3 separate regions of the Homo sapiens genome follow, and all the other regions are linked to region 2. The links are contacts of gene promoters, found by promoter capture Hi-C in blood cells and fetal thymus (Javierre and others, 2016). All regions are on one chromosome and are shown on one strand. Each heading gives the region's core, a stretch centred on a gene start or on the middle of the fragment in contact. The rest is flanking DNA. Distances are from core to core; before and after follow the strand shown. Region 1 has its middle 110 kb from the start of SLC22A3. Region 2 holds the start of ACAT2 (acetyl-CoA acetyltransferase 2). Region 3 holds the start of FNDC1 (fibronectin type III domain containing 1).

Evidence for each region. Contacts are between HindIII fragments. The CHiCAGO score rates a contact against its expected background, and 5 or more counts as called.
Region 1: a contact is called between a fragment that was not itself captured here and the fragment with the promoter of ACAT2 in region 2, in 4 of 17 cell types (naive CD8 T cells, total CD4 T cells, total CD8 T cells and 1 more). The highest score is 8.2, in naive CD8 T cells.
Region 3: a fragment that was not itself captured here is called in contact with the fragment with the promoter of ACAT2 in region 2 in 5 of 17 cell types (megakaryocytes, M1 macrophages, naive B cells and 2 more); the score reaches 14.1 in megakaryocytes.

Annotation. Positions count from the first base shown.
Region 1 is chr6:160,460,456-160,464,306 of GRCh38, reverse strand. No RefSeq gene overlaps it. Among named protein-coding and RNA genes, the nearest start is that of SLC22A3, 110 kb to the right of the region's middle. RefSeq lists an enhancer at 1,320-1,369. The HindIII fragment of the contact is 8,063 bases long and covers 1-3,851 here.
Region 2 is chr6:159,760,487-159,764,320 of GRCh38, reverse strand. It overlaps ACAT2 (acetyl-CoA acetyltransferase 2), which reads right to left and starts at 2,276. Exons shown (of 9, transcript NM_005891.3): 1 at 2,179-2,276; 2 at 1,268-1,402. The coding sequence starts at 2,233. It overlaps SOD2-OT1 (SOD2 overlapping transcript 1), which reads left to right and starts at 1,989. Exons shown (of 2, transcript NR_037166.1): 1 at 1,989-2,327; 2 at 2,685-3,834. It also overlaps a transcript of SOD2 not described here. RefSeq lists enhancers at 395-895, 2,964-3,023 and silencers at 2,304-2,453, 2,474-2,533. The HindIII fragment of the contact is 5,525 bases long and covers 1-3,073 here.
Region 3 is chr6:159,168,118-159,172,412 of GRCh38, reverse strand. FNDC1 (fibronectin type III domain containing 1) reads right to left here and starts at 3,013. Exons shown (of 23, transcript NM_032532.3): 1 at 2,708-3,013. The coding sequence starts at 2,816. It overlaps FNDC1-AS1 (FNDC1 antisense RNA 1), which reads left to right and starts at 2,406. Exons shown (of 4, transcript NR_121668.1): 1 at 2,406-2,601; 2 at 3,652-3,880. RefSeq lists an enhancer at 1,659-2,158 and a silencer at 2,965-3,134. The HindIII fragment of the contact is 1,395 bases long and covers 560-1,954 here.

The DNA.
Region 1 (3,851 bases), core at 898-3,397, 700 kb before region 2:
TACTGCCGTAACCCTGATGGTGACATCAATGGTCCCTGGTGCTACAGAGTGAATCCAAGAAAACTTTTTGACTACTGTGATATCCCTCTCTGTGGTAAGTTGCCTTCTGTTTTGGTAAGGAAACTGCTTCCTTCATATGGATTTGCAAAAAAAAAAAAAAAAAAAAAAACCAGAAAATGGCTTTTGAGCTGAGTGCTTCTGGGGAGGAGATGGCTGCCCTCTCCACCAGAGCCTGCCCTTCGTCATGGGCATCTTGAACCTGCCCTACAATTGGCCCCATTTGTTAGGGAAACACCCGCCCCTCCCACCACACACACATAAATAAAATAAATGTAAAATTCCCAAAGAGCACACTTAGAGGTGATCTAATCAGCCCCAGGGTGGTCCCACTGAGCACTTCAGTGTCTAGCATGGGATGCATGAAAAAGAAATTTACAGTCATTCGGATAAAAAACCTTTCTCTTCTGCAGCTGAGAAGTATGAAAAATATACGAACAGCAGGGCACAGCTAAGCATGTGGTGCACATTGTAAACCTACAGATGGCCATCCTAGGAATTCAGTGAAGGGTAGTGCAGCTCTTTAGCCCCAAATGGCCTTTCTCCTAAGATTATTCCTCACGATTCACATTAGCATCATTGCTTAGAGACTGTTTGTTGGGTTCCCTCTTCATTGCTCCAAGACTCTTGTTGGGAGTATGAGGCTTGGATCAGGGTAAGTGGAGTTGACATTAGATCTTAAACAACTGGGATAACAAATCCATGGGTATTTCTGAAAAAACAAAAAGCCACTTGGACTTGTCCCCTATTTTACTTTCTGCTGACCAATCAACTTGTCTGTCCTAGTTACAGAAAGCTGTCCTGGACTTTTCATTTGTATAATTTGGTTGCTTGTGGTTGGGTCTGCCATGTGGAAGAACCTTGAGCTGGGGGAAGCAGCTTGGCCTCCAAGTCCACTGAAGACCACCATTCCAAGATTTCCTGGGGAGGCGGTACAGGGCAGTGATGAAGATTATGGGAGCCACACTGCCCAGCTTCGCATTTGGGACACTCCTGGGGAGAGCAAGAGGGAAGAATGAGAGGTTAGGGTGATAGTAAAGATTCTACTTGGCCAATATTATTGTATTGTGGCATTGTGGTCTCTGGATTTAGTGTGAGTTGATAGCTGACCTTTTCCTTGAGTGGGTGTTTTTGTTTGTTCTGCAGAAGCATCTTGGTGGCTCCTCTACCTGAAAGTCCCTCGATGGGGTCAGTTCCAGTTCTCCACTTCTGGCCCCGTCTGGTACATGCCACTGCCTCTCACTGCCTGGGCTCTCTATCCTTGACAGGCTGCCTTGAAGTTGAGCCCACACTGACTTTCTTGCCTCAGACCCCACTACTGTGCCTGGGACTCATGCACCTTTGACTCCTATGGTAGGAAAGTGCAGTAGCTTCCCAGGTGCATTTCTGCTGTCCTCACCCACATAAAGGTTGTATGAGAATCGAGTTCTTAAAGATTGGAGAAAGAAGGAAGAATGGGAGCAAGATTTTTCCCAATGGACTGTGAGGTCCCCCACCTAACCTTGATGTAAGACAAGTGAGGTTAACCCCAAGCCTTGTGAGAAGGGTTCCCATAAGACACTTGGAAATCCTCAGAACTGTTTCCTACAGAAGGATGTGGTTGGTGGGTTTGGTTTCCTGCAGAAGGATGTGGTTTATTCAGGTTTGACTCATGCTTGAGAAATCTAGAGACTCTGGTGGAGAATGATTTTAATAGCTAGTTCATTTCCACTAAGACATTCAGTATAAATAATAAGTAAAAATAAATAGAAACATTCAGTTTTATTTTAAATAGTAGGAGCAGGTACCATAATTTCTGTAGTTACTCTTTTAGTACAATGATGCATGTATACTGTGTGTAAGGCATATTAGCAGAAATTGAGTTCAGCACTAGGGAAGATGATTTCATTCCATGCAATGTTTCTTTAAAAAAAAAAAAGACTTATATAGATAGATTCTCAGAACAGCCCATGGCAAATGGACAGTTATTTGGAAAACTCAGGTTCCAAATTCACTGGAGTGTAGAATCTCTGGTTGGTTGGGGAGGAAATTCCTCTTGCAGTTGTTATTAATAATTATGTGAATATTATTAACTATATTAATGTTTATAATTTTGAAGACCTTGAAGGACTGGAGACAGAGAAGCATTTTTGAACACCCTCTGTAGCCTATGCACTGTTGTAGGCATTGATGGGTGGTACCAAAGATGGGACACTGTTCCTACCTCCAGAGATCTTGCAGGCTGGCTGCAGAGAGAAGGCAGAGAGGAGGTAAAAGAAAAATAAAGGCACATGTGTGTAAGTCACCCCAATGACAGTCAGTTAGTCATGGGAGGCTCCCCAGAGGAGCTGTCCTGAAGCTGGCTGAGAGAAGGCAACATTTCAACTTAGGACAGTAATCCTTGCTACATACAATCACACACACACATACACACACACACACACGTGCACACACAGACTCACATGCAAAAGAAACCTTCATGCCTTTCTGTAAACTTTATGTGGGTTAGATGGGGATGGTGATGAGGATGATGATGGGAAGGATGACATCATGTTCTAAACATTGTTCGGAATAACAATGACGAATAACTATTTGTGCCAATCAAGGTCTTCTCAGAAAAGATCTCATTCTAATGCTGAACTATACCAATTTCTTTGATCACTTCTCCAACAAAATAATTAGAAAGCGCTTATATTTCCTTGAAAGGAGAGCATCCTGTGTTGTTTACTACCACTTTTGAAACCTAGAAAAAAAATCTAAAAGTTGTTTATAATTTTACTGTTTAATTTCACCTTTGAAATATCAAAAACTCAGTGCTTGGAATTTGTCCTAAATTAATTGACAAAATTGCCAACTTGGACTCAAATGCGACTTCTTTCCCACCTTGTGCCACAGCATCCTCTTCATTTGATTGTGGGAAGCCTCAAGTGGAGCCAAAGAAATGTCCCAGAAGCATTGTAGGGGGTTGTGTGGCCCACCCACATTCCTGGCCCTGGCAAGTCAGTCTTACAACAAGGTAAGAACAGGCCCAGAAACCAACTATATTGTCCTTCCACACAAGCCCCACAAAATCCTTCTACATTTACACAGAACCCACACAGCTGAGGCATCAGTACCTGCCTCTATGTTTTCTGAAGGAGGAAAAAATATAGAAAAATAAAAATAATTATATTATTTTAGGTTCTCTACTTTGAAAATGGCCAAAATTGGAATCTTTTTCTTGATCTAAGTAGCTACATCAAAATCTGTAGGCGCAGTGATTTGCACCAAGTTCCGATATTGCTGGAAAATATTGAAGATGCTCTGAGGGTTTCTATGGATATCCATTGTCTCACTGTCAGATGAAAAGAGAGGGAAGTTTTTAGAAATGTGACACTTTGCAGTGAGGGAGGACAAGAGCAAACTTACCTACAGTCTGTCACAGGCACGATTTTTTTTTTACACTTTTGTGAATCATTGAATTCAATGCCGAGGCTACTCATCCATTCACAAACACAGGAAAAAATTATAGGTCATGATCCCCATAAATGAAGAGTAATCAGTCCAATCCCACAGAACCTGGACCTTTTGGGTATTGTTTCAGTGGAACATGCCTTTCATAAGTTCAGTTTTCTTGGGTATCTCTTAGGAAACACGCATAGGAAACAGGCCCAACCGCCTGCATGTTTTGCTTCCTTGGCTCACTTCTACATCAGGGTGCCTGTGCTCAATTACTGTTCTCCCCTAAAGAGCCTTCTTTTCACAGGTTTATGAAATGCCATCGACAAACCTGATCACATTGCATTTCACTCTGCCGTTGATTTGATTTTTCTTTA
Region 2 (3,834 bases), core at 1,027-3,526:
GCACCTATTTTCCAAGCTCAGAACTGAGCCCTAAGAGGGCAGGGAACTTACCTGTATTGTTGGAACCATACTCCCAGCACTAAGCACAGTATGGGGCACATAGGAGGAACTGAATACATTTTTGTTGAATGAGTGACACTTTGAGGTAGTAAGGAGGAGCAGGCATACTTTCCTATGCGTCAGGCTGGCCCTGCTGCTGCTTCTTCTTCTTCTTTTTAAAAGGAGTCTCACTCTGTTGCCCAGGCTGAATGGAGTGCAGTGGCACAATCTCAGCTCACTGCAAGCTCCGCCTCCCGGGTTCACGCCATTCTCCTGTCTCAGCCTCCCAAGTAGCTGGGAATACAGGCGCCCGCCACCACACCCGGCTAATTTTTTGTATTTTTAGTAGAAACGGGGTTTCACCGTGTCAGCCAGGATGGTCTTGATCTCCTGACCTCATGATCCGCCCACCTCGGCCTCCCAGAGTGCTGGGATTACAGGCGTGAGCCACCGGGCCCGGCCGGCCCTGCTTCGTAAGAATGAAAAGGCAGTGGGCCGCCTGTAGTCCCAGCTACTCGGGAGGCTGAGGCAGGAGAATGGCGTGAAACCGGGAGACGGAGCTTGCAGTGAGCCGAGATCACGCCACTGCACTCCAGCCTGGGCCACAGAGAGAGACTCCGTCTCAAAAAAAAAAAAAAAAAAAAAAAAAAAAGGAAAAGAAAAGGCAGTGTAGGTGGTGTAGGTCAGTGGTCTAAGTTCATTCACAAAAAGCATATTAATGAAGCTAAGTCTTTTTGTTTGTTTAGAGAAGGGGTCTCACTCTGTCACCCATGACGGAGTGCAGTGACACAATCACTGCAGTCTCAAACTCCTGGGCTCAAGTGATCCTCCCACCTCAGCCTCTCCAGTAGCTGGGAGGCACAGGCCATCATACCTGGCTATTTTATTTTTTGTAGAGACGGGGTCTTGCTTTGTTGCCCAGGCTAGTCTCAAACTTCTGGACTCAAGTGATCCTTCCTCCTCCGCCTCCCAAAGTGCTGGGATTACAGGCGGGAGCCACCCTGCCTGGCCAAGAAGCTGAGTCTCAAGCTGGATAGAAGCTACTGACAGGGCTGGAAGAAGGGGGCCAACAGGAGGAATCATAACAGAGGGAACTCTGAGCAAAAGCAAGGAGGCAAGAACTTGAGTGAGTGAGAGAGTGTGTGAGTGTGTGAGAGTGTGTGTGTGTGTGTGTGTTTATGGGCTGTTTCTAATAAGCCTGACTTCTCCTGGAATCACTGAGACTTACCTGCTGCCAAGACATGTCCAAAGATGACCTCAGACACATCTTCCGGAGCCACAGTGGCCCTCTTCAAGACTTCTTTGATGACAGTGGAGCCCAGGTCCTGGACAGGAACAGCAGCTAAGGCACCATTGAAGGAACCTACAATAGAAAGGCGGAGAGCGTGGACATCACAAGCCTGCGGGTAATACGGGAACCACCTACGAGCAGGGGAGCCTCATGACCCTGTTTGGCAAGGCCACGCGAGGAGGCAGTGCCCTCTCCTCCCACACGTTCCTACACCTGCTGGTCTGAGCAAAGGTCAAGGTGGGTGCCACAACTCGCAGCAGCCGAGGGCTGGACAGGCGACCTCCAGAACGGCCTAGGGACGCCGCTGTAGCCCTTCTATTTCCCCAAATCCGAAGGACTGGATGCGACCCCATGCTTCCCAAACAAAAGGAACCGGCGGGTCAAGGGCGTTGAAAACCATGCGGCACGAAGGAGACGAAGTCACGACTTCTAGCCATTGTGTGACAGCCCGACCCCAGCCCAAAGCCGGGCTCAGACCACCTAGCAGTTCCGCCCCTGCCGCAGGCATTACCGATGGCGCCTCCCGGAGCCGGCCAATCAGGGGCCCCGGAGGAGAACACCTCCCTACGCCAACCAATGGGAGAGGCAGGCCACGCGATGGCTCTACCCCGGGAGCCAATCCAAGCACGAGGGACGGAGTGCGCACATCGGGAGAGGAGAGGGTGGGGCTGTAGCACCAGGTCAGGGAACGCGGGAGCCGCAGGGTTCCAGGGATCCCGCGGCTCCTCGCGGCTTGGCCTGACCGGCTTCCTCCACATACGCCCCTCTCCTACACAAGTCCGGCCCTCGGCGCTCCTGCCGAAGCAGCAGGCGCCTCGGACTCTGCGCGGCTCCCGCCGGCCACTCACCTATGATGGTCCGCGCCGCCGAGACGATGACCACAGGATCTGAGCCTGCATTCATCTTGCTTCTCCTGCCGCCGTCTGCCCTGCGCTGCCTGCAAGCTAGGCAAAGCTCCTCCTCGCAGCCCACAGGCCTGCCGCGGGCGGGACCTGAGGTAGCCCCGCCCCTCGCCCTCCACCTCCCCGCGCACCACCTCCCCGCGCATCCCACTGTGCGCAGGCGCAAGGCCGGAGCAGGGGCGGGCGGAGGCGCGCGGGGCGCGGGGCGCGGGGCGCGGGGCGGAAGTGAGGCCGGGGCGCGGGGCGCGGGGCGGAAGTGAGGCCGGGGTCTGGGCTTGCGGGCAGAACCGCGGACCTCGGACGCATTTACAGAGCGCCTGAAACCCCAGTGTTTCTGGACACCCCAATGTTGGAGTTCCCCGACTTGACGTCTTGGGCTTTTTTTTAAAAAATCTTAGGGTTTCTCGAAACAGTAAAGACTGGGGGGTGACAAAGACTTATCTCTCGTTCAGCTCAGGACTGGAATCCCACGGGCGAGAATCTCGAGTGCGAGCCCGGCCCGCGGCGGGTCTCAGCACAGCTCTGATGGGTCCTTTTGCTCTCGGCGGCTTCGGGAGGTCCTATGCGTTTCTCCTGGCGCCAGTCATTCGCTCGCGTGAGGGGCTTGCTAGGAGCGTCTCGGTGCGAGCCCCCTGCCTTCTAAGATCAACTCTGGCTGTGAACGGGTGAGGACGCCGGGAGCGTCTTAGCGTCACAAAAGTTCCTTTGGTTGACGTTTGGACAGTGAAAGGAGCATGTAACAAGTGGGGTCAGTTTTGTTTAAAACCCTTTCTGACTTCCCAGCCTCTTACTGGGCAAAGTTCATAATTTTTCTGAGCTTTCTAGGGTTTCCAGGCAAGCTTATGAGGGGCCACCGTTACAGCAACTTGTTGGGAACACCTGGATAGTGGAACAAGAAAGCTTTGTCACAAAGTCATGAAGGGGAAAACTGTTGACGGACCTGGAGAATCTTCCTGAAGAACTTTAAAGTTGATTGAAAGAATCATTAAATCCTGGAAACCTACATTAAGACTTTGCAGAGATATGCGGATGGGTCAGATAAATCAGAGAAGGTAAAGAGTGTAGGCCCCAGAGGTGGGGCAATAGAGAAGGAAAAAAATTGCATAACAGTGCAATTTCAGGAGAAATCTTTAGGGTCTGGAATAGTGGTGAAATCAGCTGTCTACTCTGCTAAGAACTCAGCAGCACACTGAAGTCTCTTCAGTTGTCTTCAATGTGTTTCCTGTCCCCTAACATATCTGAGTCCAAGGAATTCAAGGAATGCCTCCCGTGGCTTTTGCTCTATTCTATCCCATTTTCCCCTTACTCCCTGGCCACTTCTGAGTCTTTGTGGGCTTACTCTCACATCCCCTTAACATGTTCCCCAAGGCTCCTACTTTGCACCAGCTCCCTGGGTAATACCAGTCATTCCTACGGCATCAATCACCACCTGTATACTGACAAGTCTGAAATCCTTACATCTAACCTCGTCTCCTAAGCTGACTGACCCTCTTCATTTAAATTCTTACAAGCACATCAGGTCGGGCACCTTGGCTCACACCTGTAATCCCAGCACTTTGGGAGGCCGAGGAGGGCGGATCATTTGAGGTCAGCAGTTTGACA
Region 3 (4,295 bases), core at 8-2,507, 590 kb after region 2:
GCAATAATAGCAGTTATTTTACTAGAAGTAGCAAGTTCCCTTTGTTCATTTTTGAGAAAACATCGGCCAAATACCCAAGTCAGAATAGCTCTAGTTTGTCTGTTGTCATTCTTTGTGGTAAATACCACATTCCATTTTAAAAAACCAGCTAGCTTAATGCATAACACAAACAATCACACCAGTGCTTCCCCCTGGGGTTGCCACTGAACTTGGTCATCAGCAGTAGTAACTTATGTGTCCTTCCCATTTATTTACACTATTAAAAAGACATACACTCAAAGATACAAAGATTTGGTAAAATTAATAATTTTACTGTGGCATCAAGAACATTCTTAATGAAACTGGCAAATTTTTTTTAACTGCAAAGTCCCCCCAAAATTCAAAGACTACTAGTGCATGGTGATGTCCCTGCCTTGATTCTCAGTAAGACACCCGCAGTTTACCCATCAAGCTTTTGCACCCTCAGTGCAAATGTCAACTGTGAAAAAGGAAAATAGCATCTTAGTAATCTTAGTATTACTTTGAAAATAGTTTTGACATGGAAAATTCCCTAAAAGCTTCTTTAAAGAAGAAAATAAAAATCATCCCTAACCATCCTAAGATACCCACTGCAAATATGTGCATGTGTGAGTACATCCACATGTGTTTAGAAAAATGTATCATACCAGACTGGCAAGGCCATCATAATTTTAATGTTTGCATAGTATCCTATTGTAGGGATGAATATGAGTGGAGGAGGGGACACTGCTTGCTTATTTTGTTTTATGTTTAATTGACCCTACACTGAAGGGCTTATCCAGATCTTCAGTGTGTCCTGCTTTAAGCAAAGTCCCTCGGAGCCACTATTATGTGGCCGTGGGTAATTTCCTTACAGAGATTCTGGCCCCAAAAGGGTGGTGAAGGGGAGAGCTTGACACAAGCAGCTCGCTTGGTCCATGCATTAGTTCAACCAGAGAGAGGGAGCAGTCTATCCATGACGTTGCTGTCAAAGGGAGCCCATGAAAGAAGTTATGTACCCCATAATTTCATCCACAGCATGGGGAGCTATCTACAGGTTGCTATGTCTGTTTCTATCCTTCTATTACTTAATTTAAATTTAGTAGATTTCATTCTGAAATGTGCCTGTCCTCCTTTGTCCACCTCTAGTCTGGTCATCATTTGACTGTAGATCCCACGTCAACACAGTAGAGAGAAGGGCTGGGAAGCTGTCCAGCCCCAGCATTCCTCAGCACAGTGATTCACAGAGCAGAAGGCGAAAAAGCAAGAGTGCAGATCGCGGTGGGATTCCAGGAGCTCTCACAAACAACCCCGCTCGGACCCACTCACATGCAACCCACGGGCAGGTGGCAGAGGAATCGGAAAAGCAGAAGGCTGGAATCGCCACAAAGCCAGGGCAGCACTGGTTCCAGTTTCAGATCATTTTCAGAAACAAAAACTCTTCCAGCACTCTGAAAATTTTCACTTAGAAAAACAAAAGCCAGGAGTTGTAGGTGGGGAAGTTGGAAGACTTTATTTAGTTTTATTCCTCTCAAGTACTGTGCAAAGTATTCAGTGAATACTTTCCTAGAGTTCACTAATGGGAAGAAAAAGACCCTACGGCAGGCACTGCCTTTTATGAGAAAGTGGCATTGGCATCAGAATACCTCGCATAAACCTGAGCCAAGCATTGGGATGATGTATCTACCAAAAAGTCACAAAGTAATGTGATCCCCAACTTTTCTTCCTTTACCCCTGAAGTAAGAGAACAATATATACACTAAATAGCATCATAAAACTGGTACCCTCGTTGGAATAGTATCTGACGATCATTGTCTGCTTCTTGGATTTCTACAAACCAATAACCTAAAAGCCAGTTTCAAGTGTAAAAATGCCTGCAAAGGAGGTGGTAACAAGGGCCGCCAAAGGCTTAGGAATGAAAACCTCGCCACAAACTTGTCTCTCTCTGCAGGAAGCTTGCAAGAAATCTGACAGGAGCGCGCTAGCATTTTCTGAAAAGCATTGCTCTCAAAGGAAGCATCCATCCTGGCTGCAGCCTCAGCCATTGGGGAAGGGCGAGTTTCTCTGGAATCAGCTTTCTCATTTCCCTCTCCCTCCTCTCAAGACAAACATTTTCTCCCAGCTTGAACGTTCCCCCCGGGCGCGCGGGCCTCCTGCCGCCTGGAGCCGAGCTGGCACTGGAGCGCTTCTCCTCTGGAGCGCAGAGGCACCCGACGCCCTGCGGCAGCTCGCAGCCTTTCCCCCACGACCTTCTAGAACAGCCCTGCTCTGCCTCCCTCCGGTCTCCCGAGTGCGCCCGTCATCCTGCCTCGCGAGAGGTGAACGCGGAGAAAGTAGGATGACCACCTACGCTCCCGAGAAATTCTGGGCAAAGAAAGGCATTACCCCAGTCCGCACGCTGAAAGTCGCCTTTCTTTTCCTTTTTTCCCCGCTGTGCCTGAATCTCCCGGGACACTTAGACGGCTGGAGCCTCCCGACTCCAAGGCGGGCGACGGCAAAGTTAAACGCCAGCGCGCTGCGGTCCCCGGGCACCGAGGCGTCCCCGCTCCCGCCACCCACACAGGGCGCCAAGTGCCCCGACCCGCGAGTGACGAGGACGCACAGGCTAGTGACACGACCCGTAGCCAGCACTGAGCGGGACGACGGGGCCCGAGCGCAGGAGGGTGCGCGGGGAGCTGAGGAGCGCCGGGGGCCCGGGCGCGGCGCGTACCTGAGGCCGCCGCCGAGGAGGCGACGGGGAGCAGCGCGGCCAAGAGCAGCAGCGCCGCCCAGGACAGCCGGCGCGGCGCGCGCAGGGTCGCCCCGGCCTCGGGGGCCATCGAGAGCCCGGGGTGGGCCGGGGCTGGGTGCTTGCGGCTGGCAGGGGGGCGCTGGCCGGAGTCTGGGGAGTGCCGAGGCGCCGCCGTCGGGTCCCCGCCGCCGTCCGTCTGTTCTGCGCGCTCTGCGCGGTGCCCGCCGCGCCCCTGCCCCGCGGCGATCGCTCCCGGCCGCACACCGGCAGCCGCGCTCCGCCACTGAGGCCGCCGACCTCCCGCCGAGCCTTTTAGCTGCGCTCGGGCGCCCCCTGCCGGTGTGCGGGGCCGGGGCCAGGGCCGGCGGGGGCGACCCGGGCGACAGGGGCGACGGGGGCGGCGGGGCCCGGGCTGGAGGCGGGCGGGGCGCGGGACGAAGGGGCCGGAGCGCCCCGGACTGACTTAGCGGTTCTGAACTTGGGGCGGTCGCTGTGCCGGGCCAAGTGGCTGAGGAAGTTCCTCCCCTCGTCTAACCCTCTCATTTTCTGGCTGGGGAAGTCGCCCATCGCGCCGAGGAGTGCCCTTTGTCCCCTTACAGAAACACCTCTGCGCCCCAAGTGGGGACTCGGGCCGGGACCCCTCACCCGGTCCGCAGCGCTGTAGTTCCTGTGGCTAGCCCAGTCCTTCCACGTCCCTACCCGCACCCGGCGCGCCCACGTCAGGGGTTTTCAGCGTCCTTAGACCCTGCTCCGTCTGGCTGTCATTTCTAGGGCGCGCACGATGCGGGTCGAAAAGGAACCCAGTTTTCAGTGTGCCTTGTTGCCCAGGCCAAGGACTCAGCGGACCTCGCCTCTCCCTTTTCTGTAATTGTAACACTGCCCCAGGTCTCCCTATTCCTCCTTCTCCCTATTCCTCCTTCCAGCCTGGAAGCCTCGCGGCCCTCCAGATGGACTCGGAGCGCCCCTGGAGGCTACAGTGACCTAAGCTCTAGGAAGGCCGGGTCCTGGACGCCGCGTGCTGCTGTCCGCCGCCGACCGGTGTCCTCGCAGAGATAACCTGGCTGAACTCACCGCCCAGCGCTATGTCAGTTCTCCCTCATGACAACCCAAAACTTGACCGGATTTGTGTTCTGCAGAGAGGAAAAAAAAAAGGTAAATGAATTGCAAAGAGATGAAAACCAGAAATACAGTATCTCTTTGAATTTGAGCACCCAGGAAAGGTGTAAACCTACCGCCTTCCTTTCCAGGAAACTCTCCTGCTTCCCAGCAAAGGTTTTTGTTTGTTTGTTTTTCTTTTTCTTTTTGTTTTGAGACAGGGTCTCCCTCTGCCTCTGCCGCCCAGGCTGGAGTGCAGTGGTGCAGTCTTGGCTCACTGCAACCACCATATCCCAGGCTCAAGCCATTCTCCTGCCTCAGCCTCCTAAGTGGCTGGGACTACAGGTTTCAGCCACCATGCCCAGCTCATTTTTGTATGTTTTGTAGAGACAGGGTTTCCCCACGTTGCCCAGGCTGGTCTCCAACTCCTGAGCTCAAGCAATCCGCCCACCTTGGCCTCCCAAAGTGCTGG